Linked DNA regions of Homo sapiens: region 1 is linked to region 2. The links are contacts of gene promoters, found by promoter capture Hi-C in human tissues and cell types (Jung and others, 2019). All regions are on one chromosome and are shown on one strand. The core of a region is centred on a gene start or on the middle of the fragment in contact, and the rest is flanking DNA. Distances in the headings are between cores, read along the strand shown. Region 1 overlaps RNF103-CHMP3 (RNF103-CHMP3 readthrough). Region 2 holds the start of REEP1 (receptor accessory protein 1).

Region 1 (4,399 bases), core at 1,663-4,162, 280 kb before region 2:
TGACAGTTTAAAGTGTGGCTTCTTAGCGTTGTTTACTAAGTTGAGTGATTTTCTCAAAATTCTGGAATATCAACTAGTTACAAACTGGAAAGCATTATTTGTCAGTTGAAGTTCATAAAAACGTAAGAAAAACTCCAAAACGTTGTCTGTCAATAGCAATATTTGTCACGATAGTAATAATAAGATACCCAGAGTGGGGACACATCTTTGGAATACTTACTATCAGAGGCACTTGGGCCTAGGATTTAAATGTTAAATCATGAGTTTGAATATAGACAGTATACACCGTACAGTATTAGCTTTTCAGACTTTAAGTTTGGTGAAAATAAGGCGAGCATTTTGTATAAATGCCTGCCATGTTCGAGTTTATATTATATTTCTGTTAGGATTTTTAAAAATTTGCATCTTGGATGTGTAAAAGAAAAATTTTTTTTGTCTTCTGTGTCACAGGTACCCTTGCATTGTTTAATGGGTTGAGAAATATACGTGAAATAGTGCTGAGAGAATATTCAATGTCTTAAAGAATGTGTTTTTAGTAATTGTTGGTTTTGGTAGGATTGGGTGAGAAATATGGTTAATTTTTTTCACTGCTGCACAAAGTATATCTTTGGATATACTTCCTGAAAGTGGAATGTAATTTGAGAAAGGCTTTCTGCGTTGCTGTGGGAAGCAGCTGAAACTGATGGTTATCTTTTTTGTTGTTTCAAGTATTTTTGTCAGCTGTATCTTTTACAAGACAAATCTTTTCCTTCTTTAGTACCTTATAGACATGTAGCGTGATAGACAAGAGTATGAGCTCGCTAGCAGTTTAACACTTGGATATTTGTAGGTTGCGGGTTATAAAACTCATATCTCACTATTAGGGTAGAGGAGAGGAACACACTCTGCAGAAGTGATAAATGTTTCTTTAGAGAAAATATAAAATCGTATATTATTCTTGCCCCTTGTTTGCTGACTGGTTTATGGCGATTCTTATTTCTACCATAGGGGGAAGAAGTGGAGTAACTAGGGTAAAAGATCTCTAATAAATAAACTCTCTTGGTTTAGAGATGAGAAGTGTCTCAACTGCCAAAGCCATCATTTTTTTATGGAAAATAATTTGGTCACACATTTTTTTTTCTTTTGACTGTTATTTATTATTGCCTTCTTTTGGGCCTAAAAATACTTGGCACATTGAATGTACTAGAAGTCCACATTTAACTTTAAGACGCACAGCCCAGTATGACTCAAATCACACGTTTTATGGCAGAAAAGTCATGGTATAGCAGTTTAAAATTTAAGTGTTTATTGTGAATGGTTTTGCTGCTATCATGGTGCAGTACTTGGTTTCTCACTGTTTAATATTTAAGGCGAAAGTTAAAATAATTTGATTTTAGTGTTTTCCTTTCCTTTTTGTTTAATGATACAAGCTCTAAATTTATAATATAAATTTGTATATGAATATGGAGTTTGTTCTGTCTAACAGGTAAAGTTCTAACCTCCAAGTCATACAAACCCTGTTGCTCTTTTAAGCAGGGCTGATGGCAAATTCTGTGAACCCAATTCTACATCTTTTAAGTAAGAAGCATATAAGCCATACTGTTTAAAAATGTATATGAAGCCTGTATGTGTCATTCATAAAACTAAATAATTAAGAAAGTTGTGCCTTTTTGGAGTGGTACAAATTTGGTAAGTTCCTAATAATTATGTGATAACCCCACTAAAATATAAGCCCTGTTCTATAAGAGATGGATTTTTGTCTATTTTGTTCACTTTTCCCTGATGCATAGGAAGTTCTTACTACATATTTATTGAATGTATGACTCCTAAGTGGGTATATCCAGGTTCTTCTAGTAGTTCTTGTCTATAAAATACAATGAAAGTACAATATCATGATTCTTAACAGTGTAAAAAATAGAATTACTGAAATTGGGAATCTAGGATTCTTGCAACCTTATTAGTGTTATTCTTTTCCTTTCTTCAGGTGACTTGATGGAGGGTGAGCTCTATTCTGCTCTCAAGGAAGAAGAAGCATCCGAATCGGTTTCTAGTACCAATTTCAGTGGTGAAATGCACTTCTATGAGCTTGTGGAAGACACAAAAGATGGCATCTGGCTGGTTCAGGTATGAAAAGCAGTAATAATTTGATAATTCGAGAGCCCTAAAAAAATTATTTTTACCAAAATAGTATGTACCAGCCAGTGACACTTCCGTGTCCTTGTGTCTTGTTTCTCACACATAACTCAGTTCTCTTAGGGAGGCTCCAGTATCTTCTTAAAAAGGTTTTGGAGACTGAGGAAGATGAAAATTGAGTAGTGGGAAAGAGAAAGATGGGGGATGGGGGTCAACTTTTTGTTTAGAATCCCCAGAAGCAAATCTATTTTAGTTATTGGACCTTTGTTGAATTGAGAAATACACATATATATCCCTTTTATTTAGTGATTTGCACTGTTTCTCTTAGTTTTTATTATCTCCAGTTTTTAATTCAGTGGCCTGAGTAATTTTTATATATAAGTAAGAACCCTAAAGTAAAAGTAAAGGAATCATTGTATTAGGGAAATAGCCAACTTTGTGACTATAGAGGAGCTGTTGTGGAAAATGGTGGGGGTGCTCATTACGTAACTCAGGATGATGAGATTATAATTTTTAACCCTTGTTTTTATGATAGCAAAACTGTGAGACTTAATTAGCATATTAGAATTTTAGAGCTATGATGGACCTTAAAAATATTTTATGCTTTCCAAGATGTAATTTATGGTGAGTGGGCATGCATTATCATTTACATATTTTAATGTAAATTAGAAAAATTATATTAACATAAATTTCATAAATTTTGCTTAGGACAGGACTAAAGTTATTTACATTTTAAAACTGTACATTCAAAGTGACATATCAAGTAAATTAACAGCGTGAATGTGGCTAAAATTATTAATGTAGTCTGTGAATGGCTGAAGCTTGGAAATTATATCAGACTAACCCTTTCTGAGACTCTGAGAGGTGAAGTAGCTTGCCCAAGGTCATGGAACTAGTTGGTAGTATTGAACCAGGATGAAACCCAGGTCTTCTGATTTCTTGACTGGTACTCTTATCATTTCACACTGGAGTGGGCAAAGTTTGATTCAGGGCATGAAAATTAAAACAGTTTCTTCATATTTCTTTCTGAGAGTAAAGACTGCAAAATATGGTAGGAAAAGCTATGAGTTCAGAGACATTAGTTGCAGGTCTGGTACTGTCGCTGTTACAGGTCTGGTACTGTCACTGACTAGCAGTATGATTGTAAATAGGTATATTTTTCTGTTGCACGTGGCCTCAAATAAATACATATACATCTAAAAAGGATAAAATGGTACTGTAGTCCACTGTGCTAAAGGGTTGAGGTTTGGGAATTCTTCCAGAGATTTACATTGTTCATCCATGGCCTTTCTTTATTGTATCCTTCCTATTGCATTTGTCCTTTTACCTTCCGGATAATCTAATTCAGTAATTTTTAAGTTCAGCAATGGGAGAGAATGTGAGAGTATGAGTGTAGTCTATACATTATCTATTTAAATTTTAGTTTATTTCTGTGTCAGTTGGAGTTGAAAAATAAGGTGGAGCTTTTTTAAAGCTTTAATGTATAAGTATATTGTTATTCTGTTTCTTTTCTCTGGTACTTATTTCTAATAGTCTGATTGAGAAAGACACTGGTTTTGATAATTTTAGATTTTATTACTGAGGATGAATTGAATAGCCAGTCCCACTGCCCTGCTTTCAGTGTCTAAATGTCACCCACATTGAATGATCCCATGGAAATAAATGGTGAAGATGTTGCACACCTTTGAAACTTGGAAGGGCTATGTCAAAAGTCTTGAGTTCTTTTGCTATATAGGCTGCTGCCTATAGACAACAAATACATTCTGGTTCAATAGTTAGCAGTATGTTCTTGGCTTGTAAATGATCTACTGTTTTTGATGTCCTGTTAAAGATATCCATGAATTAAGCTCCTGTAATAAATATGTGACAGAATTCATCAAAAGTTTATTCAGTTGTGGGTGTGCCAGGCCCTGTTCTGGGCCCTGAAGATATACCAGAAACACACACCAAGCTAAGGCCTTGCTCTGTCAGGCAGCTCACATTCTAGTTGGGAGAGGCAGACACCAAATAAATAAATATTTAATATAACATCAGTTAGTGGAAAGTAGTAAGAAGAAAAATAAGCAGATTAAGGAGATGAGAGTGGCAAGGAATTCTCTGGTAAGGTGACAAATGAAGTGAAGGACAAATAATGATAGTAAATGGTAGCATTATAAATTCTAGTTGCTAAATTTTTTTTCTCTGAAAATATTTTTAAACCTTATAGGTATTAATAGTTGAAAAACAACTCTTTAAAAATAGAATGTATTTCTGTGGTTTTTCTATGTATGGAAATAATGCAGTAGGA
Region 2 (4,860 bases), core at 1,064-3,563:
CACTTATAGGGAGTAGGGAACAAGCATGTGGTCACCTCTTCTTTATTTTCCCACCAACAGGGTCTCTTTGAACCACAGTAGTCCATCCCTCCGCTGCTCCCCCTGCAAGATGGGTAACAGCCTTTCTGACGCAGGGAGCATAGGTGAGGGGTATGGATGGAGGGGAAGGGAGGTCTCAGGAAGGTCCTCTGTGCTGGGTGCTGTCCTGATCTAGCTTTGGTGTTCTCTTTGCCTAGTAAGTATGGAAAGCTTTTCCCCGTGGAGCATTGTTTTACCCGTATAACCTTACCTTGAGTGAGATATGGTGGGGCCAGACACAGATCAAGAGAGAGAAGCTAGAAAGAGTTTTAGAGCTTTTTATATCCACAGTTTCCTGGAGAGATCACAGCACACCATGCAGGTCCACTCAGGGCCAGGGTCTGTCACAGAGAGAGGGAGAGAGGGGAATTGTGGACAAACATCTTTATCATGGTTTCTGAGGGAAGGAAAGAGTGAAATAAGGCAAGCAGATATAGGATAGGCTAATTTGGATAATTTCAGCGGGTTCTGAAGTACAGGGGCTGTAACTAGTTGTTTGGTGCCTAGCCCTGGACAGGTGTATAGTGTCCCGCGTGTGAGAGCCTGCTAACGGAAGTGGTTGGGGGTATGCAGTTAATAGACTGCTGGAGAAGGGGAACTGACCAGCCTCCAGCCTGAGCCTCAAAACTGGGTCAAGGCAGCATGAAAAAACTGCTACATTACAGCTATTTTATGGGTTCTTTGGAGACCTGAGATATGAGAGCATGTCTCATCTGCAGTCCCTTTGTTGTCCGTGAAGTCTTTCTTCTGACTATATCAGGCACACGCACGCACAGATTCTGCTACATCTGAGAGTACTAAGCTGTCTCCTGCGCTTCTCACATCTGACACTGAATTATACATGACACCATCATCAGCAAAGGACAGGGCGCTGGGAGCACCACGCAGAACCTAAGCTATTGGAGGGTGGGAAAAGCAGCAGCAGAGCCTAGGAGTAGAGGACAAAGCGTTTCCAGTGTAACAGAATAATGTACTATCTGCGGCCGGGACTAGGGTGAGCAGAGTGAGGCGCTCAGTGAGGGTGCAACATTTAAGAGGTGCCATAAAATTCAGCAACTAAAATACATAATAGGTGGCTCACTCCTGTAATCCCAGCACTTTGGGAGGCCAAGGCGGGCGGATCACGAGGTCAGGAGTTTGAGACCAGCCTGGACAACATGGTGAAACCCCGTCTCTACTAAAAATACAAAAATTAGCTGGGCGTGGTGGCGCACTCCTGTAATCTCAGCTACTCATGAGGCTGAGGCAGAAGAATCGCTTGAACCCGGGAGGCGGAGCTTGCAGTGAGCCGAGATCGCGCCACTGCACCCCAGAGCGAGACTCTGTCTCATAAAAAAACAACAACAACAAAAAAAACCACCATAATATTTAATACGGTATTTTAAAAAATACATAAAAACGTTTATATAGGGTGCACAAGTTCCCTTTTGCCTAAGAGTTCAACGTGGCTCAGCGGGGCACTGGTGCTAAGCAGTCGCAGCTTCTAGTCTCCTCCTAGGGCCCGGAGCAGCCCCCAAGGAAAGGCCTTCCCTAGGAAGAAGTAGCCCTTCAGCCCAGCCTAGAAGAAGGAGCTGAATCAAACCAAGGCAGGACGATGAGGCGTGGCGTGTACTGACAGGGAAGAAGAAACAGCAAATATTTGAGTCCAAGATGCCTGGAGGGAAAAGAGCTAGAGGACTATTTGGGGGAATGGTCTTGGCAACACGGTTCTAGGCAGGTACCACGATCATATAGGGACTCTGTAGAATTTTAAGTAGGGAGGCAAGCGCCCAGGTTTGTTTCTTATGCAGAAAGTGCTGAGCAACGGACAGACTGAAGAGGTTAGGTCTGGATCCAGGTAAACCCTTTATGAGGCTAACGCACTAGCTGAATGAGGGATGACAGCATCCCACCTAGACAGGTGCAGACAGATTCCCGAGGTTCAGGTTCGGACTTCAGTTTCTCCGCTGGAACGCTGAGGGTGGGGCAGCACCCGGGTCCCTGCCCTGCAAACGGGGCCGCTGCAGGGTTCCTTTGGCGGGGCCGGTGCCCCGGGGAGCGCGCAGGACGCGCCCGCCTTCAGCCGGGGGCCAGGGCGAGCGGGACGGGGCGGGCCCGCGGGTGCCCTGACCAGCTCACCGCCCAATCGCTGCGGGCCCGCCGAGCCCCGGGGGGCTGGGGCCGCCGCCGCCGCCGCCAGAACGTGCCGCGGCTGCGCCAACGCGCGAACGCCGGGCAGGGCGGCGGGCGCGCTCAGTCTGGCGGCGGCTGCCGTGAGCTGACTGACGTTCCGGGAACGCCGCAGCAGCCCGCGCCGCCCGCAGCCTAGCCGAGCCGCGCCGCCCGGGCCTCGCCCGCCCGCCTGCCCGCCATGGTGTCATGGATCATCTCCAGGCTGGTGGTGTAAGTGGCCTTCTCCCCCGCGCCCCTCCGTCCCCTCCCTCCCCGCCCCCGGCCCCGGGCTGCGCGCGCCCCTACAGCGCCCGGTCCCAGTGGCTCGGGCTATTAATACCCGGCGCAGCTAAATTTAGCAGGTACAGTAGCCGCCGAGGACGCCTGCGGGCGGACGGGCGGCGCAGGACGCGGCTGCTGCCCAGGAGGCAGCCGGCGCCGGCGGCCGCTTGCGGGGGGCTGGGCCGGGACGGCGAGGGCTGGGGCGCTCGGGGGTTCCGTGGGGGCTGCGTCTCGCCGCGCGCTGGCCGCTTTGTTCCTCAGCTCGGTCGATTTGCAGAGGCCCCGAATGGGCGCACCGCGGACACGCGTCTCTCTCCTTTGGCAGAAATGTGAGGTCGCCCGGCGCCGCGCCCCGCCGCCCCAGCTTTTGTCAGGTGGAAAGGACAGCGCAGACGAACCAGGGGCGCTGCCTGGAGGGTCAGCGCGGAACGGGTGGAGAGGCAGAGGCGGGGCTCCCAGTGGGGTTGGAAAAATCCTCCTTTTTAGGTGTCTGCATCGACAGCGGCAAAGGCAGCTGGGACATGGGAAGACGCATGTGAATCTTGGAGTAAACGCCTGGAGCCCCCGGCTCCGACTCCTTTTGCAGGGGATTGAGAGACAGGGGCAGGTACCTCCAGGAATGCACGGGAAATTTTCAAGTGACAGCCACCCGCATGGTGGCGATGACACCTCCCAGGCCTTGCAGGAGAGCGCAGAGTCATCTAGGGTGAGGTCTGTGTGAAGTCATTGGGGGTGGGCGTGGGGGCCGATTTTCTCCTTCAAGCCCCAGGACCTGTAGGCGTTTGAAGAGCTTCCCCGGTGGATTTATTCTCCTTTGGAGATAGACGTGGCTGTTCCAAGTCCCTGTTCTTCCCTAACCATCCTGGCCTGAGTCAGAACAGATTTGCCACCTGCTGTAGCTAGCAGGGGCTGAAATGGGTGTGGGGAGTCTAAGGCGGGGAGGAGGGTGGCAGGCACCTCGGGCTTTTTCTTTGTCTGAGAACACGGGGCTCTGGACCCCAGTGATTGTGCACCATCACTCCCCACGTTTTGAAACACCACCCATCTCCCTTCCCTTCTTTACTGATTTTCCCTTCCGAAGTGGATCTCAGCATTGTCTCCCGCCACCATTCAGGGCTTTCCTCCCAAAGCCAGTGTCTGTGCCTCTCAGCCCCCAAGTCATTCCGTGAAGGCCTCTCCACAGCTGTTCCTGACTGCGGGGTGTTTGCGCTGCACCTTGAGGTGGCATGTTAAATATTTAGAAGATTTCTGCTGGCAGAGCCGACATGAATAATACAGGAAAGTGGCTGACACGCCTTGCCCAGCCTCATGCCTGACCAACACTGTCTTGCCTTCAGGGTGGTGTTTCCTCTCTGGGATCGATATTGCCAGTGGCTTCTGGGAAGCCCTCAGGGTGGGGCTGGAGAGTTGAGCTGGCCTGGCTGGTGGGCTCTCTGTAGGTCCTGCTGGGCTGGGAGTGAGGGCATCTGATCCTGGGTCATGTGACTATCATTAGTTTTATTAGCACTGGGTCATGTGACTATCATTAGTTTTATTAGCACCTCCCTCACCCCTGCCCTTTTTTTTTTTTTTTTTTTGAGACCGAGTCTCGCTCTGTCGCCCAGGCTGGAGAGTGCAGTGGCACAGTCTCGGCTCACTGAAGCCTCCGCCTCCTGGGTTCAAGCGATTCTCCTGCCTCAGCCTCCCGAGTAGCTGGGATTACAAGCGCCTGCCACCACGCCCAGCTAATTTTTGTATTTTTAGTAGAGACGGGGTTTCACCATGTTGGCCAGCCTGGTCTTGAACTCCTGACCTAGTGATCCGCCCGCTTCGGCCTCCCAAAGTTCTGGGATTACAGGCGTGAGCTACCACGCCCGGCTCCTCCCCCTTTTTTACAATGAGCAACTGATGGGGGTGGAGAGGAGAGGCATATATTTGGGAGGTGTCTCAGGGATGTGCTGTTGCTTTCTAAAACAACCACACTCCCTAGAACCGAGACTTCAGAGAATTTAAATGAACAGCATTATGTGGCCCAAGGAGAGTTGATGGGATTTGGGATTGTTACTTCCACTATCAAGTCCAAAAGGTCAGGGATACCACTTATCCCCCAGTCCCTAATTCCCTGTAGAAACCTAGCATAAGCATATTGATTATGAGTTATGAACATCATTTTTAATAAGCAATACCTGTTTCATGAAGACAATATTTGTTAATTACAGGAAAATTAGAAAAGATAAACTGAAAATCATCCACATTTCCACCACACAGAGATAACTAATAATAATGATGGAGGGCATATTCTTCAAGAAATTTTCCTGTATTGCATATATGTACATATATTTGTAATTCAAGGATATTATTGATTCAGCC

Evidence for each region. The method cuts DNA at HindIII sites, captures the fragments that hold promoters and counts their contacts. A contact is called where the count stands out against the background at its distance.
Region 1: a fragment that was not itself captured here is called in contact with the fragment with the promoter of REEP1 in region 2 in 4 of the 25 tissues and cell types used here (IMR-90 fibroblasts, dorsolateral prefrontal cortex, lymphoblastoid cells and 1 more).

The regions. Positions count from the first base shown.
Region 1 is chr2:86,618,034-86,622,432 of GRCh38, reverse strand. It overlaps RNF103-CHMP3 (RNF103-CHMP3 readthrough), which reads left to right. Exons shown (of 8, transcript NM_001198954.1): 3 at 1,964-2,103. The coding sequence starts at 1,972. It overlaps RNF103 (ring finger protein 103), which reads left to right. Exons shown (of 4, transcript NM_005667.4): 2 at 1,964-2,103. Among named protein-coding and RNA genes, the nearest start is that of RNF103, 3.6 kb to the left of the region's middle. The HindIII fragment of the contact is 6,359 bases long and covers 1-4,399 here.
Region 2 is chr2:86,335,079-86,339,938 of GRCh38, reverse strand. REEP1 (receptor accessory protein 1) reads left to right here and starts at 2,313. Exons shown (of 9, transcript NM_001371279.1): 1 at 2,313-2,460. The coding sequence starts at 2,429. The HindIII fragment of the contact is 14,274 bases long and covers 1-4,860 here.